Regions from separate parts of the Homo sapiens genome. Here regions 1 and 2 are each linked to region 3. Evidence: promoter capture Hi-C in 16 types of primary human blood cells and fetal thymus (Javierre and others, 2016). All regions are on one chromosome and are shown on one strand. Each heading gives the region's core, a stretch centred on a gene start or on the middle of the fragment in contact. The rest is flanking DNA. Distances are from core to core; before and after follow the strand shown.

Region 1 (4,197 bases), core at 433-2,932, 550 kb before region 3:
AATTCTGCTTTTTCAGATATTATAATACCACTCCATCTAATTTGATTCATGTTTTATCTAATATAGCTTATTACATCCTTTTATTTTCAAATTTTTGATATCCTATTTCAGTGTGTTTCTTACAGACTGCAAATTGTTATAATCTTTTTATTATTCTGAAATTCTCTCTTTATATTGATAAAATTAAACCATTTGTATTCATTATAATAATTTTAATACTATAACATTTCTGCCTTATTTTATGTTTTCAATTTATTGTATTTTTTATGATGTGTGCTTCTTTTCTCTTTTCTCGCCTTTTCTCCTTTCTTTAAAAAGTACACATTCTTTTTTTAAAATATAAATTTTTTAGGTTTATGATGTTTGACTTTAAACTAAGGCCCATTTTGTGTTTATTTCTATTAATTTCCCAATTACTCGTATATCTCAATATCCTTTGAGACATCATTAGCTTCTTTCATTTCTTATTTTTAAATGCTGCAGTGCTCCAAGACCCAGTCCTCATTCTTCTCCATCCTTACTCAGTTCCTAGGAAATCCTATTCAGTCCAATGGCTTTAAATATTAATTATATACTGATGAATTCCACATCGTTACCAGGCCTCCAAACCTGTGTATACAACTTCTTCTTCAGTATCTCTGCTTTAATGTTCACTGTGGACCTCAAATTTAACCTGCCCAAAGTAGAAGGTTCATTTACTTCAAGGTTGTATAATTGTGGTCTCCTACAGTATCTCCAAAATCCTAGGGGTTTTCTTTGGTTTCTCGTTGTCTACTACTTCACATTAAAATCTTCAACAAGACTACCATCTTTATGTTAAATTATATTCCCAATCTGCCCACTTTTGTCACCTCCACAGCTATCACCCTCGTCCATATCACTATCATCTCTCACCTGGATCATTGTAATTACCTACTAACTGTCCTCACTGTCACCTCATTTCCACTATTGCCTAACACCCCCCAACCGCCACCTCCATAATATATTTATCTCCACAAAGATCTATTTTTAACAGAGAAAATAACACTGCTCCCATACTCAGAGTCTTCTGCTGACTTCCCATCACGATTACATCCAAACTCCTTACCATAGCCTGTTAGGAAAGTGGACATATAATTTATCCATCCAAACCAGGCAGTGTTGAGACTGAAAGAGGCTCTATTAGTAAAGACACCGGGAACAATGACAACTTTACAACTTGATTCCTCCCCTACTCCCTCAGCTCCAACATGCTGCTCTGTTTAATCGTTCCCACAACAAGGTCTTTCATGAGCAAAAATTCAACAAGGATGTATCAAATGCGGAGTATGTGAGGATGCAACAGTGAACACAACAAAGTTTCTCATTTCATGGAGTTCACATTCTAAAAGCTTCTTCCATTTGGAAGACATCCTCCAGATTCTCACACAGCTTAAGCATTCATATTATCCAAATATCTGGTCAAATGTCCCTTTTTAGAAAGATATTCCCAGGATATCCTGCTGCAATAGCCTGACTAACCATCCCATCAATCTCTATCACTAACCCTGATTTATGCTTTTCATGTTTCACCTGAAATTATATTATTCCATTAATTGTTTTCTTATAGCCCGTGTACTATTAATAGTTTGTTCTTGTACTACTATAAAGAAATATGCGAGACTGGGTAATTTACAAAGAAAAGAGGTTTAATTGACTCACAGTTCTGCAGGCTGTACAGGTTGGGGAGGCCTTAGGAAACTTTCAATCATGGCGGAAGGTGAAGGAGAACCAGGCACATCTTACATGGCTGGAGTAGGAGGGAAGAGAGATAGGGGGAGATGCCACACACTTTTAAACAACCAGATCTCCTGAGAACTCACTCACTATCATGAGAACAGCAAGGGGGAAATCCACCTCCATGATCAAATCCTCTCCCACCAGGCCCTACCTCCAATATAGGGGGTTATAATTCAAATGAGATTTGGGTGGGGACACAAATCCAAACCATACCAGCCTGTCTGTCCCTTAGAATGTAAGCTTCAAGAGGACAAGGATGTGGCCTGCCTTAGTCACTGCTGTATCCCCAGCTCCTAGAACATTCCTAAACCATCAATATGTATTGAATAAATAAATAATGAATAGTTCATTGGGGACATTAAATTTATATGAAACTTTCCCTTTGGGAACATTTAACTATGTTATTCAATAATATTTAATAACAGCCAATTCCCCAGAGGTATCTACAGAGAATATCTCTATCACAATCATTTTTCTTGAAACAACTTTTTCCATGCATTCATTTCATATAAATGGCTGTTCTCTCTGCACTGAAAGTTGAACAAGACAAATAGAATTCACGTATAAATCTGAATTCTCTTAGCATCGCTGAAACCCAGACGAAAAGCACATGTGTGAAGAAGCTGGTGAGGCTTTCCCTTTCATGGGTCTTCTATGGCATATATTTATCCACCAGTCTCCTGAATGAAAGGCTGCACTTTTTAAATTCCAAACTAAGCACTTCAAAGGAAGAGCCTCCTGCTTTCCTAAATATGCTTAGTGCAAAAGATTGCATTGCAAGGGCTATCTGGGGGCATTTCTACCTGTGGCCAAAATCCAAATGTCTTGAGGTTTTTTTTTTTTTTTTCAGATTATTGTTTATATGCTTCAGATTGTTTATATGCTGCATATATGTTTATATGCAGATAAGCATATGAGAGAGAATGGGCTATAATTATTAAATAATGAAAACAATTTTTCCACACAACTTATGAATATCATCCTCATGAAGATTGGCTAATCAAATGTTTCTCCCTGCATTCTGCCAAGAATTTAATTAAAAATGGCTTTGATGGTGTGTATCCAAGGAAAACTAATTCCTGGTTTTAACTAAGGAATAAATGAATACTTAAAGCAGGTTGCTATGATGGACCAGGAGTGCACAAGTAGAGTTTTGTTTTGTTTTGTTTTGTTTTTTGTTTTTGTTTTTGTTTTTTTGAGATGGAGTTTTGCTTTTGTTGCCCAGGCTGGAGTGCAATGGCACAGTCTCGACTCACTGCAACCTCCACCTCCTGGGTTCAAGCGATTCTCTTGCCTCAGCCTTCCAAGTAGCTGAGATTACAGGCGCCCACCACCATGCCCAGCTAATGTTTTTTGTATTTTTAGTAGAGACAGGGTTTCACTATGTTGGCCAGGCTGGTCTCGAACCCCTGGCCTTAGGTAATCCACCTGCCTCGGCCTCCCAAAGTGCTGGGATTACAGGCATGAGCCACTGCACCCAGCCACAAGTAGGATTTTGACACATTGAACTGGTTTGCATGCCAAATCTAGTCAATGGCTTAAATAAGTTGTTGAGAAAGATGTTTCTTTGGTGCAAAGAATACAGAATAAGAAAAGTGAAAATATTTGATTCAACAAACTTTTTGAGAGTTACCTATCAAATACTCCATGGAAAGCAATACTGCTCAGACCACTACAGTCGCCTTGCATTAAGCATCTCATGATCTCCATTTCAATCATAATACTTCTTCAGATGAATTTTATTCATGTATTTCATTCCACTCTTACCTGATTCCCTATAGTGTCTTTGTATTATTGCCTTGGACTGCAGCTATGCTTTGGTGGCAAGAATGTAGCCTGTGTTCAAGATCAACTTGAACAGGTTAAACTTTTCAATTGGCTGCATAAAGTTTGGCAGGCACTTAATCTGTCTCAGTTTGCTCAGTTTGTTACACCACAAAATGCAGCTAGTGATACCTACCTATTGGGTTGCTATGAGGGGTGAGTGTGACCATATATGGGAGTATTTCTCAATGATCAATGGCATAGGCAAGACCAGAATCAGGGTGAGATGAATGAGAAGCAACATTTAAGAGGACACCAAAAAACTACCATCAGGATAAATATTTTAATAAAATATGTTGCAGAAATCTAAATCAATGGAAAAAATCCATGATGAACAAAATACCAAAAATTCAGGCTCTGGATATGAGAATATGAGAGATATAACAGTATGTTTGATAGAGGTATAACAGACAAACATTTGACCAGTGGTCTTTCTTGCCACGTCATACGGTTTTAATCCTGTCCTTTACTTCTCAGCAGCTGGCTTCAGAGCATCCATCAGTGTCTGCCTCCTCACTATCCAGCCAGCTGGGAGCTTTTTTCTCCTTGCTATTTGCTTAAATTCTTGCTTTCTCTTCCTTGGAGTACATAGTTGCCTTTCTGACAATTTTCAAC
Region 2 (4,361 bases), core at 381-2,880, 880 kb before region 3:
CTGATAGCCCGAGGAGACATGTTTTCTTTGGCCTACATGATGCTTTTTAGAAAACATTGAGGCGATATTAAACAATCTAGAGATTTTTTTTAAATCAAGATCTCTATTTCTGTCTCCTCTTTAAGAATTGAAGGTCATGGCCCCTGTAGATGAGGCCTGTGCTCTTCAGGTTGCATTAGGCTCTAGGGCTTTATCCTGCCATCCCTTAGGCATTCCCCACTGGGCCCTGGTGAGTGCAGGAATCCAAATATGCCCCTGGGACCAGGCAGATGACAAGTGGGAGGAGACAGGCCGGCCTACCTTGTGTTGGTCTGATGGCTTCATGACTGACAGCTTGATGGCCTTAGAGCAAATTGTTTAACCTTTTTGAGCTTTCATTGTCCATCCTAGTTTTGCCACTTATTAGCTCTGTGACTTTCGGCAGATTACTTAACCTCTCTGTGCCAGTAAATGTGTTGCTACATGTAAAACTTTTAGAGTGGTGCCTCATAGTACAGGCTCAATATGTGTTAGCCATAATTATCGTCTGTAAAACAGGAATTATTATTGTCCCTAAAATGGGAATAATGCCTACTCTTTTAAGATGATTGCCCTAAAGATTAGAAAGGCATTTTTTTTGTTTGTTTTAAAGACAGTATCTTGCCCTGTTGCCCAGGCTGGAGTGCAATGGCGCAATCTCGTCTCACTGCAACCTCCACCTCCTGGGTTCAAGCGATTCTCCTGCCTCAGCCTCCTGAGTAGCTGGGATTACAGGCACCCGCCACCATGCTCGGCTAATTTTTGTACTTTTAGTAGAGATGGGGTTTCACCATGTTGGCCTGGCTGGTCTCGAACCCCTGACCTCAGGTGATCTACCTGCCTCGGCCTCCCAAAGTGCTAGGATTACAGGCATGAGCCACCATGCCTGGCCGACAGTTTTAAAAATAAGCTTTAATTTTTTTGGTCTTGTTTTATTTAGCTTTTGATAAGAGTTAGGAAATCACTAGTCCTAGAGATTGAATAGATCTTGAACTTTTTTTTTCTCCAGGGGGGAAAAAAAAAAACTACACATCTTGTAAGATTCTCCAACATAACATTTGTGTCTGGTACTTTTCCCATTCATCTTATGTTTTAGCTTTCATGCTTACATTTTGGTTATGACACACTTTTGTTAGACATCTTCCCATGCATACCTTTCTGACAGGTTTTCAACATTTTTGCAAAATTTAAGGTTTAAGCCAAATTATTATTCAGGACATGTGGCATCAGTTAATTACGAGCTTGGGCTCTGAAATTGACACGCTGGATTTTTATTCCAGTTCTGCCTCTTCCCTGCTGTGTGCTCTGGGACAAGACACTTAACCTCTCCTTAAGCTTCATTTCCTCATCTGTAAAATGGAGATGATGACATAGGGCCCCTGCGAGGATTAAATGAGATTCTGCATGTAATATGCTTAGCATAGTGCCCCGCATAGAGGAAGTGTGTGGACTCCACTATCAGGCTGATTTTCTTATGTTCCCCTTTCAGCTTTGCCTCTTAGAAAAAAATTGAAAACGTGTAAACAGAATATGTAGAGTGGTTTTTTTTTTTCGTATTAAGATGAAGTTGTTAATTAGTGGTAATGCATGTTTATCTGCTTGGCTCTTTGTTTAGCCGTATTCTTGGGTTACTTTCCACCAAAAGAGATACAAATTTCTTGATAAAAGTTTAGGTTGGGGGAATGTCTGCAAATGGCCATTTTCTGTAGGTGAATAAGTACATGTAGTTCACCTAGGGTCCATGAAAGCAGTCAAGGAGCTTTTCCATGACTGCTTTCACTAGGAGTTCAAGGACCAAGCTGAACTTGTCCATTGCCCCAGGCTAGACACAGCGGTTAGTGTTCAGTAAGTATTAGTTTAACATCTTTTCTATTCTCCAGCACTTACACTAAGCTTTGAACATAAATGGTCAGTAAACATTTTGGATTCAGTTTAACAAAGGCTTATCAATCCCCATGCCTTGGTCCTACGTTACAGGCTGGGGGTGGAGGAGGGCCAGGGCAAGAGCACAGCCCCTGATTCGAAGTAGAATTTGGTTTTCTTAAGTGTAAAGTGCTCTGGGCAGGATTTTCAAGGAGATGAGCTTAAATCTTGATGGGCAGGTAATAGAGATCAGGAATCAGTAAGAGCATCCACATAGGAGATAATATTTGAGATTAATTTCTGAACCTTAAAGGAAGAGGGCAGTGTAGTTGTGGCTTCAGCTGAAAAAAACTACAGTACAAGGAACAAGGCATTAGGATCTTACTTCAGGATTATCAAACCTTTCTATTGGTATGATGGCTGGGGGTAGGGAATTGGCTGGGAAGGTAAGACTCCTCTTACTAGCCTCAAGGAGCATGGAGGGAATGTGTATTTAGTGCTGAGTTTGGTCTAGGTTATGAAGAATGCTTTGAAGTCAAGGCTAAGGTGGACTTGACCCAGGAGTGGCCCCCCAGGCTTTGCATACTAGTCCAGGGCTGCCTGTTCCACCATTCTGTCCAATTAGACATACTCCCCAGCCTGTTCCAATAGTCTGACGAAGCGAGAGGCCAAGCCCTGCCTTAAAACTTGGACACTCCCTTGCTGTGGGCAACCAAGACTAAGGGAGAGTCTGTTTTTATTATTTATTTATTTATTTATTTATTTATTTATTTATTTATTTATGAGACAGGGTCTTGCTCTGTTGCCAGGCTGGAGTGCAGTGGCACGATCATAGTTCACCGCAGCCTCCACCTCCTGAACTCAAGTGATCCTCTCATCTCAGCCTCCTGAGTAGCTGGGACCCCAGGCGTGTGCCACCACACCGGCTAATTTTTTTATTTCTATTTTTGTAGAGAATAGTCTCGAACTTATGAGCTCAAGCGATCCCCCAGCCTCAGCCTCCCAAAATGCTGGGGTTACAGATGTAAGCCACCACACCTGGCCTGTTTTTTTTTTTTTTAATAGTAAAACATACATAAAATGAAATTTACTACCTTAATCATCTTTAAATGTATATTTCAATAGTGTTAAGTACATTCATACTGTTGAACACTTTCATCTTGCAAAACTGAAATTCTATACCCATTGAAGAGCAGCTCCCCTCTCCTTCCCCCAGCTTCTGGCAACCACCATTCTACTTTCTGTCTCTGAATTTGACTATTCCAGGTAACTCGCAAATGCAGAACCATACTGAATTTGTCTGTTTTTTGACTGGTTTATTTCACATACCGTAACATCCTCAAGGTTCACCCCTATTGTAGTATAAGTCAGAATTTTCTTCCTTTTTAAGACTGAAAAATATTCCATTGTATGTATAGACCACATTCTGTTTACCTGTTCCTCCTTTGATGGACATTTGGGTTGCAAACAATGCTGTAATGAACATTTGCATGTAAGTATCTAAGGGAGATTTTTCGTGGAGACTATTTAGGAGGGTTAAACTCATGGCTGCGAGCTACATGTTGGGGAGCTGGGCAGAAGATGGGCTCTTTAGATTATCTCTGAGTGAAGGGGTAGTGGACCTGGGTATTAGGGTACATGCTTTGGAAAGAAAGCGCCCTTAAGAGACACGAGGAGGATAAAGGTGCAGGTCTTCTCTCATTCGGCGTATTTATGGGCACCTTCTGTGTGTCAGGCACTGATGAGATTGAGGGGAAGGAGAACTGGAATTATCATGGGTGTAGGTAACTGGGAGTATTGTTGATACTATGGAATTAGTGGAAATAAAGCCAAGAGGAGGGGTGGCCTATTTGAGGGAGAGAATATGATGTTGGACTCTGCTGGGTTTATTCATTGATTATTTGTGAGCTGCATTTTCTTGAAACTCAATTTCACAGACATGGAGGGAAGACGTCAATGAAATCTTAGGGTCAGGTCCCTGTAAGAAATAAAACTAAACCCCAAAGTCACAAAACATGGCTCTATAATATTACGGTAGCATTGGGGATTATAAAGAATGGTATGTTAACTGTGAACCAGTCTTATGGTGAAAAGTAAGTTTTCATGAAAAGGAGTGTATACTAGGAAGAGAATCCTGTATTCTTCTCTGCATTAGGCCATGTTTAAGGTATGTTTTTTGTTTTTCTCAGAATAAAATGGCCATACTGGGTATAGAGGAGGACATAGAATTGACGAAAGCTTTGGGAAATAGGTCCTTTGAAAGCAACTTAAAGAAATTGGATTTATTAAGCCTGGAGAAGATAAGGTGAGGGAAGGTTTAGTGAATGACAGTCTTCAAATATTTTTAGTGTGTGAGTGAAAAGTAGAACAAAATGAGAGTCATTTAAATTGCCCCAGAAGGAAATTGAAAATTTTTTTGTTTTTGTTTTTTGTTTTTTTTGTTTTGTTTTGTTTTGAGACAGAGTCTCACTCTGTCGCCA
Region 3 (4,203 bases), core at 1,681-4,180:
ATCCATTACTCACTATTCACTACTTTCATTACACAATATTAGTCACCAGGGGGAGTTTGAGGGTCCCCTCCCAAAATTATATCTCATCTAACAGCTGCCTGTGCAGTCTTAACCTCATTAAACAGGTTTTCAACAATCCAGTCCTAAAAAAATGTTCATTTTGTACACTTTCATGAGAAACAACCAGACACACACACACACACACACACACACACACACACCCCAATTTACCTTTCACTGGGGTTCATGTTTGATTTCCTCAAAAGAAAGAAAAGTTTCCCAACCTGAAAAGCAAACTAACCTAGACAATCAAGTTTACTAGCACTTTAAGGGAATGTTCACATCCTCCTCATAATTGTTTGTCATGAAACTTTGGGGTTAAGTAAAATTTTACCCATCTATGACTCCTGAAAAAAAGAGGAGGGGGAAACACAAACTACACTCTGAAAGCAGCATAATCCAGCCATAATGCCAAATGTAAACAGTCATATATTTTAGCAAGGCAAGATATAACTAAACATCTTTAAAAGATAAATGCCTGTGACCTCTGCAATCTTAAAAATTAAAGTGTAAATAGTCATAAAAGGTATCCCAAACTTCCTTTTTAGTTGATTTTCCTAAAAAATATGAAAAGCAATCATATTGAAAATGACTCAAATCACCATAAATTAGGCAACAAAAATCACACAAATTATTTGGGGGAGGAGGATTTTTGTTTAATCCAGTTTATGAGTCCATAATACACACAAAAATTTGAAAACATGAAGACATACACATAATACATCTCATTTCCCACCATTCCCTCAGACTATTTCTCCCTCTCCTCTATTGTTAGTTTTCTAAATCCTCCCATAATTTCTTTATATAAAGAGCAAACATAAACTTGTATTATTACACCTCGCCCTTAAGATGTAACACACTATTCACAAAGTACCGCTACACCTTGCTTTTTTCACTTCATAGCAAATTTTTGCAATCTTTGCATGTTAGTACGTAGAAAGCTTCCTTATTCTTTTTTCATAACTGATTACGCCTAGCTTTAGAACATTTTCAGTCTGCTTTCTTCAGGCTAACTTTTTTTTTTTTTACTTTTTTTATTATTATACTTTAAGTTCTAGGGTACATGTGCACAACGTGCAGGTTTGTCACATATGTATAAATGTGCCACGCTGGTGTGCTGCACCCATTAACTCGTCGTTTACATTAGGTATTTCTCCTAATGCTACAGGCTAACCTTTCAAGACATTCTGTTCAGCCAACCACTTATCACAGGAATTAATTTCCTTCCCCCAAGCTTTGAAAACCAATCAGATTTGAGGTGTCCCAAGGGATAAGTTTCAGAGAAAGCAATTCATTATCTAAATTACATCCTTTTAAGAATGTTTATTTTCAAACAGGTAGAGGGGAATATTGCACAATTTTCTCTAATCGCTTAAAGCTACAAATCAGAACGCAATCTTCAAAGTGAAATTACCTTTGATTTGGGGGGATCAGCGTTATAGTCAAATCAACGACTGTAAAAGTTTACTTCTTGTGCTTTTCTTCCACTGTAAAAATTTTTTTATTTTTTAAAGAAGGCTAAAAAGCCTTAAAGTCTAATAGCACGGCATTCTAATAGCAGGAAACCACAATCTGATTTGATCTTTCATCTGCCAGGTCAGAGACTAGGCTTTTATCTTGCAGAATTAGGCTCACCTACCATCAACAAGAGGACCTCTACAAAGCTACAAACACTTTCAAAGAATATAAACTCTGCGGCGCTGCGTGTAGGAAATTACACTCCAGGGGCCAGAGCGCCAGAGCCAACTCCAGAAAACCCAGCTTCACTGGCGGAAAGAAATCTACAAACGCCAGCGGCGGTGACGGGGAACGGGAAGCGCGGGTGGACGGAAGAAGAGAAACCGAGCGCCTCGCCGCCAACCCTCGAACCCGCGCGCGGTCGCTGGAGTCAGACGCTAATAGCCGCGCGCTGCCTAGGAACGGAACCCCGGAACCACCACCACTAACGGAACCAGCCCGCGGCCGGCAACGGCGGCCGTTCGGACTGCGGACTGCGGCACGCGGGCCGGGCGCCGGGAGGGCGGGGGTTCCCCGGAGGAGCTGGCCGCCCCGGCGCCCCATTGGGCGCTGCTCCAAACGTGCCCGAGTGGTGACAGGAATAAAGTGGGTCACAAGGCCTAGCGGGTCCCCAGCGAAAGCTCTCTCGGCACCCGGTCCCCGTCTTTCCCCGCCTCCCAGCTGCTGGAATCGGCCGCAGCTCCGGGCGCCCTCAAGCCGCCCGGCCCCGCCGTGCACCCCACTCCCGCCCCTGCCCCGCAGGTAACCCCAGCTGCCCCAGAGGGCCTCTCAGGCAGGGCGGGCCTCGGCCCGAAGTCCCGGGAAAAGACACACTAGAACGACACGCCAAACTTGGGCTTCAGCTCCCGCCTTCCCCACCCTTGGCCGCCGCCCCCCGGCCCCACACACGCCGCCCCCCGCTCCCTCCCCTTCCCCGCGCCCTCACCGTGTGGCTTGCGGCGGCTCCGGCTTCTTCCCTCCCCCACCCAGGTCTCCCGCTGCGGTGACTCGGAACCACTACCCCGCCTGTGTCCAGGAGGCGCCGCGGCTCCCACCTCCAGCAGCACCTGGGGCTGTGAGTGGCGCCCCCCACCCACCCCCCCAAAAATTCGCCGCTCCTGTGGCCAGCTCCTCCTCCCCCTCCCTTCCCTTCCCCTCCTCCACCAGCCCAGGAGCGCGCATGCGCCGCCAAGGAAGCCAACCGGCACTCGGCAGGCCCTGGGCCCACCGGGCGGGCGCCTCTCACCGGGAGCGCTCGCGGCGGCGGCGGCCAGATTTCCTTCGCGCTCTCGCTCTCCGGGGTTTCCTTTTTTAAACCGGCAGCCGCAAGCCGAGTCCGTGATTGCGCCCCCTCCCGGCGCATGCGTCGTCAGCGACCCCGCGGGCTCAGACGGCCGGCGGAGGCTCTGCGCTCGCCCCTCCCCTCACTCTCCCTTTCCCCAGCGCGGCTCGGTGCGCATGCGACTTGCCCCGTTAGGCAGCACGGAGCCGCGCCAGGGGATCCCGGACGCCCGAAGAGACTCCCGCGCCCCTTGGGCCGAAATCTGGCTCTGCAGGCGCACCGTTCCCTGCCCCGGCCGGGAACGGCGCCGGTTACTAGAAAGCCGGGGAGGCGGGGCCTGGTCGGGTGGAGGGCGCGGCCGGCCGGCAGAGCGCTAGCCTTAGGTCCTGGAGGCTCTTTGGCTTTCCCCCCGTATGCCGGGGGCTAGGAGGAGGAAGAAGAGCTTCCTGCCGGATGAGGGATCCAGAGGCCAGAAAAGGAACCCGCTCTCCCTTCCAAAGCAAAACACTGCCGACGCCAGCTTAGATTTTTCGGGTGTTGGCAGGAGACTTTTTCCCCCAGTGGCATCATTCGTGTTTCCTCTCCTGGTGCTGGGAGAGAAGAGTTGCAAAGGCGCCTGGACCGCCAGTAACATCTTCTCCCATCTCCTGAGGGAGCGCGGCTTGGGTTGCTTCTTCTTGGTGGGTGGGCCTGGGGAGACAGGGCATGCGCCCTCGGCCAGAGGAGGGAAGCGAAAGGAGGTCGGGATTTATTTGCTCATTTGGAGATTTTTCCCTTGCCCTTTTATTAAAAATCAAGTGACAGTGTAATGGAAGATGGAGAATGAAGCATCAGAAATAAACCAGGACCCTAATTTGCATGGATTTCCTCGTTGGAACAACGTGTGACTACTACTTATCTTCGGGAAATTACTTATCTTGATGCGTTAAGGCACATTTGGTCCACATGAGAAAGCACATTTCAGTGCTTCTACTGGAAAAGAGATCTTTACAGTCTTAATTCCTAGTAATTCCTATGTTTTAATGAATATCTTTTGGATTTGAAATAAAAGCCATCTTTTTCTTTCAAAAAATGCACTTTTCTGGCCGTAAAATCCTCCCTTTAAAGTAACAGTCACCTCAGTAAACATTTTCAATTCTTGCTGTATGCTCTGGGCAAAAGAACATCAAACTGAAGCACTTATTCAGATCCTTGATCCTGCACCTAAGGATTTTTCTTTCAGGAGTGGGAAAACATGATTTGTTAATTTACCCCATCATATAGCAGAAGATATTTTGGTCGACATTTTTGCCTGTTCAGCATTCATTCCCTATTCTGATAATTTCTTTTGAAGAACTATCATTTATCCACTCTCAGTCCATATG

Evidence for each region. Contacts are between HindIII fragments. The CHiCAGO score rates a contact against its expected background, and 5 or more counts as called.
Region 1: a fragment that was not itself captured here is called in contact with the fragment with the promoter of CLOCK in region 3 in 1 of 17 cell types (endothelial precursors); the score reaches 12.2 in endothelial precursors.
Region 2: a fragment that was not itself captured here is called in contact with the fragment with the promoter of CLOCK in region 3 in 2 of 17 cell types (M2 macrophages and M0 macrophages); the score reaches 6.6 in M2 macrophages.

What each region holds. Positions count from the first base shown.
Region 1 is chr4:54,994,947-54,999,143 of GRCh38, forward strand. No RefSeq gene overlaps it. Among named protein-coding and RNA genes, the nearest start is that of KDR, 130 kb to the right of the region's middle. The HindIII fragment of the contact is 628 bases long and covers 1,369-1,996 here.
Region 2 is chr4:54,661,963-54,666,323 of GRCh38, forward strand. The region is part of intron 1 of KIT (KIT proto-oncogene, receptor tyrosine kinase); the gene reads left to right. Among named protein-coding and RNA genes, the nearest start is that of KIT, 6.2 kb to the left of the region's middle. The HindIII fragment of the contact is 558 bases long and covers 1,352-1,909 here.
Region 3 is chr4:55,543,979-55,548,181 of GRCh38, forward strand. It overlaps CLOCK (clock circadian regulator), which reads right to left and starts at 2,931. Exons shown (of 23, transcript NM_004898.4): 1 at 2,804-2,931. LOC124900704 (a long non-coding RNA gene) reads left to right here and starts at 1,887. Exons shown (of 2, transcript XR_007058122.1): 1 at 1,887-2,632; 2 at 3,638-3,911. RefSeq lists silencers at 1,927-2,556, 2,677-2,776, 2,837-3,206. The HindIII fragment of the contact is 4,589 bases long and covers 1,293-4,203 here.